2 separate regions of the Homo sapiens genome follow, and region 2 is linked to region 1. The links are contacts of gene promoters, found by promoter capture Hi-C in human tissues and cell types (Jung and others, 2019). All regions are on one chromosome and are shown on one strand. Each heading gives the region's core, a stretch centred on a gene start or on the middle of the fragment in contact. The rest is flanking DNA. Distances are from core to core; before and after follow the strand shown. Region 1 holds the start of GP2 (glycoprotein 2). Region 2 has its middle 50 kb from the start of GP2.

The links. The method cuts DNA at HindIII sites, captures the fragments that hold promoters and counts their contacts. A contact is called where the count stands out against the background at its distance.
Region 2: a contact is called between a fragment that was not itself captured here and the fragment with the promoter of GP2 in region 1, in 2 of the 25 tissues and cell types used here (dorsolateral prefrontal cortex and pancreas).

The regions. Positions count from the first base shown.
Region 1 is chr16:20,325,200-20,331,262 of GRCh38, reverse strand. It overlaps GP2 (glycoprotein 2), which reads left to right and starts at 3,750. Exons shown (of 11, transcript NM_001502.4): 1 at 3,750-3,796; 2 at 4,796-4,925. The coding sequence starts at 4,832. The HindIII fragment of the contact is 1,931 bases long and covers 3,150-5,080 here.
Region 2 is chr16:20,274,975-20,280,819 of GRCh38, reverse strand. No RefSeq gene overlaps it. Among named protein-coding and RNA genes, the nearest start is that of GP2, 50 kb to the left of the region's middle. The HindIII fragment of the contact is 4,833 bases long and covers 1,432-5,845 here.

The DNA of each region.
Region 1 (6,063 bases), core at 2,501-5,000:
ATAGATGGCGACAAGTTCTGAGGGGGATGAAAAAACAAGGATGAGGGATAGAGAAATGTGGGTGTTATTTGACATAAAATGATCAGAGAAAGTCCCTCTGCTAAGCAGAGGCTAAAAGAAGTAAAAGAGTGAACCAGGGGCATATCTGAAGAATAGCATTGCAGGCAGTCAGAATAGCAGGTGCAAAGTCCTGAGGTAGGATCTTGTGTCTTTCCTGCAAGGCTGACTGCCTACACTTGGACAGCCAAAAGTTTGAAGAATTGCTCACTGCAGAGGGTCTAGGGATGCATTTTATGAATTTGTCCATGTGTTTACTCAAGAAGTACTTACTAGGTACTGATGAGGACTGCAGAGACAGGCTTCCTGTCCACAAACATCTTTTTTTTTTTGGGCGGGGACAGAGTCTCGCTCTGTTGCCCAGGCTAGAGTGCAATGGTGTGATCTCGGCTCACTACAACCTCCACCTCCTGTGTTCAAGCGATTCTTCTGCCTCAGCCTCCCGAGTAGCTGGGACTGTAGGCATGCACCACTATGCCCGGATAATTTTTGTATTTTTAGTAGAGATGGTGTTTCGCCATGTTGCCGAGGCTGGCCTCAAACTCCTGACCTCAAGTCATCCGCCCACCTTGGCCTCCCAAAGTGCCTCCCAAAGTGCTGGAATTACAGGCATGAGCCACCACACCTGGCCTCTGTCCACAAAGGTCTTAACAGCCTTCAGAGGGAGACAGATAAGTTGGCAGGTGAGTGTAATTGGAAGCAGCCCTGAGAGGCCTAGGAGCAGAGAAGAGGAGTACCTGTGGAGTTAGGAAAGGCTTCCTGGGCCGGGCACAGTGGCTCACGCCTGTAACCCCAGCACTTTGGGAGGCTGAGGCAGGTGGATTACCTGAGATCAGGGGTTTGAGACCATCCTGGCCAACATGGTGAAACGCTGTCTCTACTAAAATACAAAAATTAGCTGGGCGTGGTGGCGGGTGCCTGTAATCTCAGCTACTCGGGAGGCTGAGGCAGGAGAAACACTTGAACCCAGGAGGCAGAGGTTGCAGTGAGCCAAGATCATGCCATTGCACCCAGCCTGGGTGACAAGAGCAAAACTCCACCTCAAAAAAAAGAAAAAGGAAAAGCTTCCTGGAAGAGGTGATAACGTAGGAGGAGGCTGGGTGAAGAGTGATGCAGGCTGAGGGAATAGCGTATGCAAAGGCTTGAAGATGAGGAAGAGGCCAGACAACCACAGATTGGCTGGAGCATGCAATGTGTGGTGGAGAAGTCATAGGTGAGGTTGGAACTGTAAAGAGGGGTCAGATCCCAGGGAGCATAAAGTGCTGGGAATGGGAGATAATGCTGACAGATGGTACACTGGCCTCTGGCTGCAGGGGAGAAAACAAACAAAAATAAGAATGAAAGCAGGGAGACCTGTTGGGCAGCTATTAAAATGACTCTGGACAGGGCGCAGAGGCTCAGGTCTGTAATCCTGGCACTTTGTGGGGGCAAGGCAGGAAGATAATTTAAGCCAAAATGTTTAAGACCAGCCTGGGCAACATAGCAAGATGCTGCCTCTACAAAACAGTTTAAAAATTAGCCAGATGTGGTGGCCTACAACTGTAGTCCCAGCTATTCAGGAGGCTGAGGTGGGAGGATTATTTGAGCCCAGGAGATCAAGGCTGCAGTGAGCCTATGATCACGTGACTGCACTGTAGCCTGGGCAACAGAGCAAGACTCTTGCTAAAAAAAAAAAATTACCTTCATAAGGAATGGTGGCCCGAATTTGGATTGGTGAGGTGGAGATGGAGAAGAAAGGATTATTGGAAATGGGAGCAGAGGGAGAAAGGAAGGAGCTTAGAAAGGAAGAGGCCAAGTTTCCAGCTTGGATGACTGGGAGGCAAGTGGCACCTTTGATTAAAATAGATCATACAATGAGGAGGAGAAGATTTAGGTGACTTGATGAGCTCAGAGTTGCACTTGCTGAGTTTGAGGTGTCTCAAGCATCTCAGCGGCAGTGAGAGGTCCAGCAATCAATAGGTAGATGGAACTGAAGTTCAAGGGAGTAGCGAAAGCTGGGGATACGGATTCAGAACTCACCAGCCTGGAGATGGTATGTGAAACCATGAGATAACTTGATACCTCCCAGGGAGAGTTTATGACGTGAAAAGAAAAATGGGACCTAACCAGCATTCTTAGAGACAGGATCTTGTAGCAACAGAGCAGAAATCTCCAGGTAGAAACAGGAGAATCAAGAAAATATGAACATGCGGAGTCAAGGAAATGCAAGGTACCCGGAACAAGCAGTAGGCAAATCCAATCACAAAGGAGCAGAAACAAACTACCCAGTGGATTTGGCTATAAAGTTGTAGCTACATGGTTCAGATTGGAATGGAGAAGCCAGAAGAGGGATGGAGGAACTGACTTTGAAAAGGAGGAACATCGCCTTATCAGAAGTTGGAGGGGGAAGGGGTGGAGGATGGAGACCAGTATTTATATGTTTACAGGGGAAGGAGCAAGGTCAGGTGTTGTGGCCTAAATTGTTTTTGAAGTAGGGTACCAGATATCTGCTGAGAAAGGTGGTGTGAGTGGGTGATAATAGCTGCAGAGACCATTTAAGAGGAATGGGAAGGTTAAGAGTGGCCACTGGGGAGACTGGGATGGGCACCTGGCCAGACTGAATGGATCAGTAGGTGATTTAGTGGGCCCAGTTGTCACAAGTTCCACATTTTAGAGACTATTTATTCTCCAGTTGCTCTGGGAGTAGAGAAGGTGGCTTGTAGCACCTTTTCTTTTTCCAGGTTGAGGTTTTGTAGAAGGTGTTACCAATGCCAAGACCCTCCTGCTCCCTTGACTCCAGTTGCCTTGGCTCCTTAAGGAGTCCCAGAGTGACAGAGAAGAAGCAGTGGCCATTTTTTCTGCAAAAGCTTTGGCTCTTTTATGAAGTCCATGATTTCTACCATGTCATGAAAGCCAGGTCCAAGCCTGGAGTTAATAAGTCCAAGATCCTCTACAGCCTCTTCTCAGTCTCATGCCTTCCAATCTCTAGGGCAGCCTACATATCAAAAGGGATTTACAGGGGCTACTCTGGTGCTTCTTTTGTCCAAGAACCTTTGTCTGTCCTTTGCCATTCCAAAATCCATCATCACCAAATTAGCCATTCCAAAACTGCTCAGCATTAGAAATCCGGAGTTGGGTAGATTCTATGGACCAATAAATGGAATTTTTCGAAACATCCACACTCCCTTCTTTCCTTTCCTATGTGTCCTCTTAGTCTAACTGGCCCCAAGCTCAGTGGCCTTCAGACAGAAGCAGAAATGTTCCAAGATGATTAGCTAGGAACACAAGGTACAACTGAAAATCCATTGTGCAAACAAGTGCCTGTTTGATTTTCTCTTCACTTCCCTTTGGGTATTAAGCTTCCTTTCAATTCGTGTTTGGTTTCTGGTAATAAATATGGCACCAGTTTCATTGATTAATTATGAAGATTAAATGTGAGAAGTCAAGAACGCAAAGCAGTGCCCAGCATGTTCAGCATTCAGCACACAGCACTATTGTTTGTAGGAAGCATTCGCACAATGCTGAGACAGCTGGAAGGGTTGACATTGTGAGGGGAGGGCCCTTCTTTCACCATCCTTTGCGTAAATGGCTTATCTCACCTCCACTCAACAAGCCCAGTGTATGGCCTAGAACTCCCATCATACCTGTGCACCAATTGAGGAGAGACACATGGGTGGGAAATTGCAATAAAAAGACGGCCCACAGCAGGCTGCATTCCCATGGCTGGCCAGAGGAGGAACGCTTTGTGTTCTCATCGGAGGTAAGTCCTGCTTTAAGCCCCAGGAGGCTTCCTCCTAATCCTGGGAAATCTTGATCCACTGGACATGCTAGGATTCTTTGTTTCTGGAAATTTTTAGAACCCAGCAAGTAGTTTGGACCCTGGCCATTGTCAAGTGCTCCAGGTACCACTCTATGTCCAACTCAGTCATGCTTCCAGTCATCTGCGATGCTCCAGGCCTACGGACGCCACCCTCTTCCTTGTCCCAGATATTCCCACCAGGGAACTAGGTCTCTATTGGGATCTCATCTCTAAGAATCACCAATCCTGGGTGCTTCCCTATCCCTGCTGTCTCATAGCATACTCATGGTATCCCTGCCCGAAACCGATCTCTATTTTCCACTGAAGTCTTCCAGAGGTTGTAGGAAGTTATCCAAAGATTTGGCCATTTAGGGAAAGTATTTCCCAGAAAAGTAAATGCCATCCAAATGCTGGCAGGCTTTTTTGCAGCTCTTTCTTTCTGCCTCGCCACCGCCCCCAACCCCCATTGATTTATTTATTCATCCTTAATCCTCTACTGAGTACTCCTTGTGTGCCAGATTCTGTACTAGGAGCAAGGAACATGAGGCTCGGTTTGGCATGGTTCCACAGTCACAGAAATCTACATCCATAGAGGACATTTCAGGGGGCTCTTAGCAGCACCCAATGCATAAAACTAAGAAAGGGCAGCCATTACTTTTGTGTGCAGGTATTCACAGGTACCATATCCCTTTTTCTCTATCCAATCTCCAAAGAGCCTCTACTTCCACCTGAGCAGGGACCATCCTGAGACCTTTCTAGGACATTCTGCAGTACTAGCCAGCTCTAAGCTTGCCTTTGGTTTGCTTACTGTCAATTTTATCACCCATTATCTCGCTCTATCTGTCCATAAGTCACACCTACTTTGAAACAATGCAGCTCTTTATGAAGGAAGTCAACGGATCTGTTTCTAAGAACATAGACCTATGCCCTAATCTTATCTTGGTCTTTTCTTTCCCATAGCTGCATGGGAAGTCTGCATACAGCAAAGTGACCTGCATGCCTCACCTTATGGAAAGGATGGTGGGCTCTGGCCTCCTGTGGCTGGCCTTGGTCTCCTGCATTCTGACCCAGGCATCTGCAGTGCAGCGAGGTAAGTATTCTGCTCACCTGGCATCTCAGATGTCAAGGAAGACCTAGCAAGTGAGGATAGAAGTGCAGAGAAGGTGGCTCAGGTAAGGAAGAGGAATTGGCAGTTCTAAAGCAAAAACTCAGAGCTAGAAGTCAAGGGAAACATAATGAGAAACAATGGAAATCAAGTCACAATCTCTCAAAGAGCCTAATCAGAAATTCCTCTGAAAGGGCAGTGGGAGCCAGTTAACATAATTTCCCATGCCCATATCTTTGGGAGATTAGAGACCCCAGATTAAAGAAGATCAAGAAATACATAACTCAGTCACCTTGTGCTGGCAAGTGCCTTCTCCTTTTCCTGAAAGGGCTAGATTAAGTGATCTCTTTATGAAGTGGGCAATTCAGATACTTGCAGAAAGGAGTCTCAGGCTTAGAATTAGAGTGCAAATTTCAGCCCCTGGAGGAGGGTGGGAGAGGGTACTGAGCTCATTGGAGGCCTCCAGTGGAAAAATACAATCTAAGAATAACAAATGCAGTGATTCCTTGTCTTAAAATAAGTACATGCATGAGCAAAGTTTGAAAATCTTTTTTTCTGAAAGGCCCTTCTAATGTGTATTATAAGCATGTGCAAAGCTTGAAAATCTCTTTTTTTTAGAAAGCCCCTTTAATGTGTATTGTAAGCACATGATCCTGTGTGTGCACTTAGCTCCTTCTTCAGGCATCTACAGCATTCAACAAAATAGAACTAGAGAAGACAATTAGCTTGACCCTGGTGCTGTGCTTGGCATTTTACACATATTATCACATTTAATCCTCTAACAATCGTTTAAGGCTTTCTTTCCCCAAATGAGGTGTATATATTCCAAGATGGTTCTGGGGGTGCCTGGCAAACTCTTAACAAGTTTTTAATGGCTGTATGTTTATTTTTTATGCACATCTAAAAAATATAACTAGCACATGATATCTATGTTATCACAGATATTATTCTTTAAGATGAAACTAATTCTTAAAAGATAATCATTGAAAGAAACATTTTAAGTCAATAATAGGACAGGCAAACACATGTATGACAAAGGTCATGACCCAAAGCGTAGGAACGGATAAAGTTTGAGAACCACTGGTTCACAGGTGTGGTTTTGCCAATGAGTCTCAGGGGACTT
Region 2 (5,845 bases), core at 2,599-5,098, 51 kb after region 1:
TTTTGCCTTTTCTAGAAATTTCACATAAATAGAACCATACATTGTGTCTTTTCTAACTTGCTTTTCCCATGATGTTTCATATGGTTTGTTGTTTGTTTTGTTTTATTTCGAGGTTCATTCATGTCATTGCACGTATCAGTAGCTTGTTCCTTTGAATTGCTGAGTAGAATTCCATTGTGTGGATATACCACATTTTGTTTATCCATTTGCCATTTGATGGGTGTTTCTACTGTTTCCAGTGTTTTTTTTTTTTTTTTTTTTTTTGGCTATTATGAAGAATTGTGCCATGATTCTATGTACAAGTTTTGGTGTGGACATATGTTCTCAAATCTCTAGGGTAGACACCTAGGAGCGGAATTGCTGAGTCATACCAGATGTGCATGAGGATTTTGACGCCCTAAGGCACAGCTTTCTTTTGATGTCTCCACTGAGGCCTGCAATGCTCCAAATGCTGTAGAGGAAAATGCCTGTGAAACTCAGTTTGAGCTGCAAGCTCAGCTCCAAGTCCTAAGTGTGTGGACAATTCATTACGCTTGTGTTTGAAGTCCATTTGTAGCTGTGTTTGATGTATTGTCTGCAGGGAGACAGTGAAATTTGCCAGCCTTCAGACAAACAACTGAGCCTAATTTTTCACCCAAGGATTCTAAAGAAGTTTCTTCTTGGCAGAGGCTTGAGCAAGGCACAGTTGATGAAATTGATTGTGGCAAGATGATGTGAGAAGAGGAACACATTCTTTACTACTGAAAGATGCACATAAAAGGTGAGTAGCCCATCAGGAAGTGAACAGAATCATGAGGAAATTTGCTGGCCCCGGGGAGTTTTGGGCCTCTTTAAGTGTTCTCTGCCTCCTGTCACCTTCCCAATAGCAGAGGCCTTGAAACCTGGCCTTCAGCACCCAAGATCTCAGATCCTGCTGGGTGCATCCTAACAAATCCTTCCTTCAGGTTTTACACTTCATTACAGTGATGAAGATTATCAGGAGTTGGTGCTTGCTTGGGCTACAGGTAGTATTTGCAGAAAGCTTCCAGGCTTTCACCTCCTGCCTTGCCACCCACACTCCACTTTGCTTTGATTTCAAAGCCTTCACCCAATGAGAGATCTGACCTTCAGGTCAAAACCTCAGGGGATGGACTCTCTTGGTCCTTTTCCTATCCTAACCCATGAGAAAATGAAATGCTTACTGCAGCTCTCCTAGAAATCTTTTGTAGCATAAAATCAGTATTGGTCTTAGGATATAATTTTGGCTTCAAAAGCCAGTTTCTGATGTTTGCAATTGAACAATGCCCATTTGAAGGAGGAAAAAAAAATAGGCAGACTGAATGCAGGGCTTCTCAGAGATTTGGGTAAATAAATATTCTCTCTGATAGGCTCCAGCCTCTCTGCAAAGAAAAAGTACACCGAGAAAATGATCGGTCAAGTGGGCAGATTTTGCAGGAGTTTTTATTGTTCGTTTGTTTGAGGTAACAAGGGTTCTATCTGAGAAAAAGGCTTCACGGCTAGTGTCTGAGCCCTGAGGAGAGGGATGCTGAGGAGTGTCTGTGAGACTTGAGGGGCTCTGACAATACAGCTCTGGGGGCTCTGGGACAAAGTGGGGCACATGCAGGCAGAGAGCAGCATTTGAGTCATTTTGGCACAGCCTGCAGTGTGGCTTCTGCTCAGGAATGACAGTGGGAATGCAGCATTATCCAGTAGGACCAGACTGCAGGCTCTGGGCTAGATGACCTGGATTCAAATCCTGGCTCTGCTTCTTCTAATCAACTTGGGGCAAGTTACTTCATGTGTCTGCCCCTTGGTTTTCTCATCTGTAAAATGGGTATATTAATAGTGATTACCTCCTAAGCTTACTATGAGGGATAAATGAATTATTACATGGAGGGTGCTTTTATGGGTATAGAGAAAGGATCTGCTAAGTGCTGGCTCGTTTTGATGTTGTTGCTGTGTTGCAGATTGCCAGCTTTGAGGAGTACCCATTGACACCACCCTTGACTTCACGCATTTGTCAAGATGGCTCCAGCGGGAGCTGGTGAGACATAGCCACTGAAAAGGGACTTGGAGTATACACACTCTGAGAGGACTATCTGGGAGTTTATGTGAAACTCTATGGGTGAGAATTTGCCTAGTGCAGGGAGAGCCCAAAGACCTTCATTACACAGATGAGATGCCAGTCAGTGAAATAGGTATTACCACTATTAGTATAACCTCCTCAGACTCTCAACTTCAGGGAACTTGAGAAAATACATTACCCCCAAAGAGGCTGAGGGAAACATAATCAAAGAAAATAGTTGAATAGTTTAGCAGCTGAGAGCATAGTCATCTGTACTCCTGGGTTCAAATCCCAAATCTGCCAGTTCAAATCCCAGATCTGCCTAACTGTGTTTGGGGCAAGTTAATTAAATTCTTCTGTGCCTTAGTTTCCCCTACTACAAAATGGAAATAAAAATAATAGCCCATATTTCATAAAGTTGTTGTTGGGCTTTAAAGACATCATTAAAATAAAGCACTTAACATGGCACAGTAGCCAACAAATATTAGCAATCATAATTTTTCTCATGTAATCCAAAGGGGAAAATGACAGATACACCCACAATGCCTTCTTGTTAAAGGAAATAGCTGTGTCCTGCCAATGGAGTAGAGAGTCCTCTCATTCAACCAAAGACAAATTTCACAAACTTACTCCACCCACACTGGTCTCTTTTCAGCTCCTAGAACCTGCCAGGTTATTACCAGTTTGGGTGATCTTGCATATGCTGTTCCATCTTCCAAGAATTCTCTTCCTCCTGCTCCTCCTATGGCCCACTCCTTCTCATTATTCGAGGTTCCGTTCAATGTCAACTTCACAGACCATCTTCCCTGCCCATAGGTGTTGATATAGTTTGGCTGTGTCCCCATCCAAATCTCATCCTGAATTCCTACGTGTTGTGGGAGGGCCCCGGTGGGAGGTAATCGAATCATGGGGGCAGGTTTTTCCCATGCTGATCTTGTGATAGTAAATAAGTCTCATGAGATCTGATGGTTTTAAAAATAGGAGTTTCCCTGCACAAGCTCTCTTTGCCTGTCATCATCCATATAAGATGTGACTTGCTCCTCCTTGCCTTCCACCATGATCGTGAGGCCTCCCCAGACATGTGAAACTGTAAGTCAATTAAACCTCTTTCTTTTGTAAATTGCCCAGTCTTAGGTATGTCTTTATCAGCAGTGTGAAAACAGATTAATACAGGTATCTACAGCAGCATCCCCAAACCCACCCACATGCACACACTATGTGCTATCACATCCCCTACAAATGCCCTTCCTGGAATCCATCACGATCTGAAATGTTCTTTTGTTTTCTTATTTTCTTATTGCGGGCCTTGTTTGCTAGAATTTGCCTTTCATCTGGACAGGAATCTCTTCTATCTTGATTACCATGACACGCCCAGCAGGTTGCACAGTGCCTGCCACATAGTAGATGCTCAATAATTGTCAAACATGAATGAGCTAGAAGCCCGCAACCACTCCTGCACATTTGGAGGCTTTGGGAAGGGGCTGCCTGTTCTCAGATGATGCTACCATTTCCATAAAGCAGAGGTTGGTAAATTCTGGCCTACAAAGGCATCACATGTTTTTTGTTTTTTTTTTTCCAACCCAACCAATTCTCTGACACCAACTCGGTGTCTAACAATTCAATTCTATTTTGACTAACTATTAACTATTCAGAATTAGTGCAGACCCCACAGCTCAAGAGCTTAGTTCCTCAAGACTGCCCCCAGTGCAGACACCAGCCACAAATCGGGTGTCCAAGTTACCTACACTGCTGCCCAGACAACTACAAATTCAGGGGTTCCCACAACCTTCCATCAGGTTCAATAATCATTAGAATGACACAGAACTCAGAAGGGCACTTTATTTACATTTGCTGGTTTATTATAAAGGGTACGTATCAGGAATAAGCAAATGAAAGATTGCACAGGGCAAGGTATGGGAATGATGGGGTGGCATAGAGCTTGCCTGCCTTCCCCAAGTGCACCACCCTCTCAGCACATCAATGTGTCCACCAACCCAGAGGTTCCCTGAATCTCACTGATTAAGAGTTTTTATAACTCAATCTTCAGTCCCCCTCCCCACCCCCAGACATCAGTGAGTAGGGATGAAAGTCTCCCCCAACACAATCACATGTAGTCTTTTTGGTGCCCAGCCCCCATTCTGAAGCTATCTAGGGGCTCCACTCTGAATCATCTCATTAGTATAAACTCAGGCATAGTGGAAAAGGGCCCACTGCCTGTTTGTGTAAATAAAGTTATAGTGAAATATAGCCACACCCATTTGTCTGTACATTGTCTATAGTTGCTTTCATGCTTTAATAAGATTGGCATACTCACTACAGAAATTGCATGGCCTACAAACCTGAAAATATTTACTCTCTGTCCTATTGCAGAAAAGTTCGCTGACTCCTGTCCTAGAAGATGGACCCCCAAGAATGTCTGAACACTAATAGCAGCTGCTGGACAGGTGAGTACCCAGAACAAATCTTGGGAAATGCTTGAGGGAAATGTGGCAGGGATGGAGGCTTCTCCATTGTGCATCTCATGGAGAATCTGAAGACCCCTGGGGACTAAGATCAAGCCAGTGGGCTAGAAGGTCTGCTCAGCCAAAGATGGCTCCGGCCCCCACACTGTACATTCCCTGTCACTTGTTACCCCCACCCCACACATACACTTAAGCATGTGTTTCCATCCCAATGCCTAAAGGATGCTGTTCATTTCCCCCTTCCCATTTGATTCCTACCCATTCTTCAAAGCTTAACCCTGCAATGTAGCGAATAAACAATTTTAAGAAGCTCCAACTATGTCCCAGGTACTGAACTTCTTTCTTCTCATGGAATTTCAGTGCAGAGTGGAAGACGGATTAGAAACCAAGTAACTACAACACTTCCCAGTAAGGGCTACACTAGGAGCATCCTGGGGCCCTGGGAGCACTGAAAAGCAGTACCTACCCCAACTCTGGGGAATCAAGGAAGACTTCCTGGAGGTGGGGAGATCTGAACTAAGTTCTGAAAGGAATGAGCCAAGCAAGCAGATTAGAAGAGGGTGGTAGGAACAGCACGTGCAAGGCCCAGAGTAGGAGAAAGAGCAGAGCTGCAGGAATCAGCAGAGAGGCAGAGTGGAAGCTGCTCAACCACAGGCCTGTTCTGAGCTCATAGGGCTTCTTTCTACAAATGGAGTGATGAGATGTGCAGGAAGAGGATTTTGGGGAAACTGGTAAATGATGTGGTTTCTGTTTGTGTTTCATCAGCTCAATTGTAAGCCCTTCATGGGCAGGGACATTGTTTCATTTTTTGTTTGTTTGTTTGTTTGTTTGTTTTTGAGACAGAGTCTCACTCTGTTGCCCAGACTGGAGTGCAGTGGCGTGATCTTGGCTCACTGCAACCTCCACCTCCCGAGTTCAAGCAATTCTTCTGCCTTGGCCTCCTGAGTAGCTGGGATTACAGGTGTGCGCCACCATGCCTGGCTAATTTTTGTATTTTTAGTAGAGACAGGATTTCACCACATTGGTCAGGCTAGTCTCGAACTCCTGACCTTGTGATCTGCCTACCTCAGCCTCCCAAAGTGCTGGGATTACAGACGTGAGCCACCACACACAGCGACCTTGTTTTGTTGTTGTTGTTGTTTGTTTGTTTTATCTCCATACCATCATCTCTCCACCACAGCACATTCCATCATGCCCAGCATGAAATGAGTGCTAAGCTGGTTTTTGCAGGGCATTGTTTAAAGCTCTGGAAAAAGCTCCAGATTGGGATACTGGTCCTTCCTTGGCCTTTGCTGATTCACTCTGGGACCTTGGCTGAGTCATCACATTGGTGCCCAGA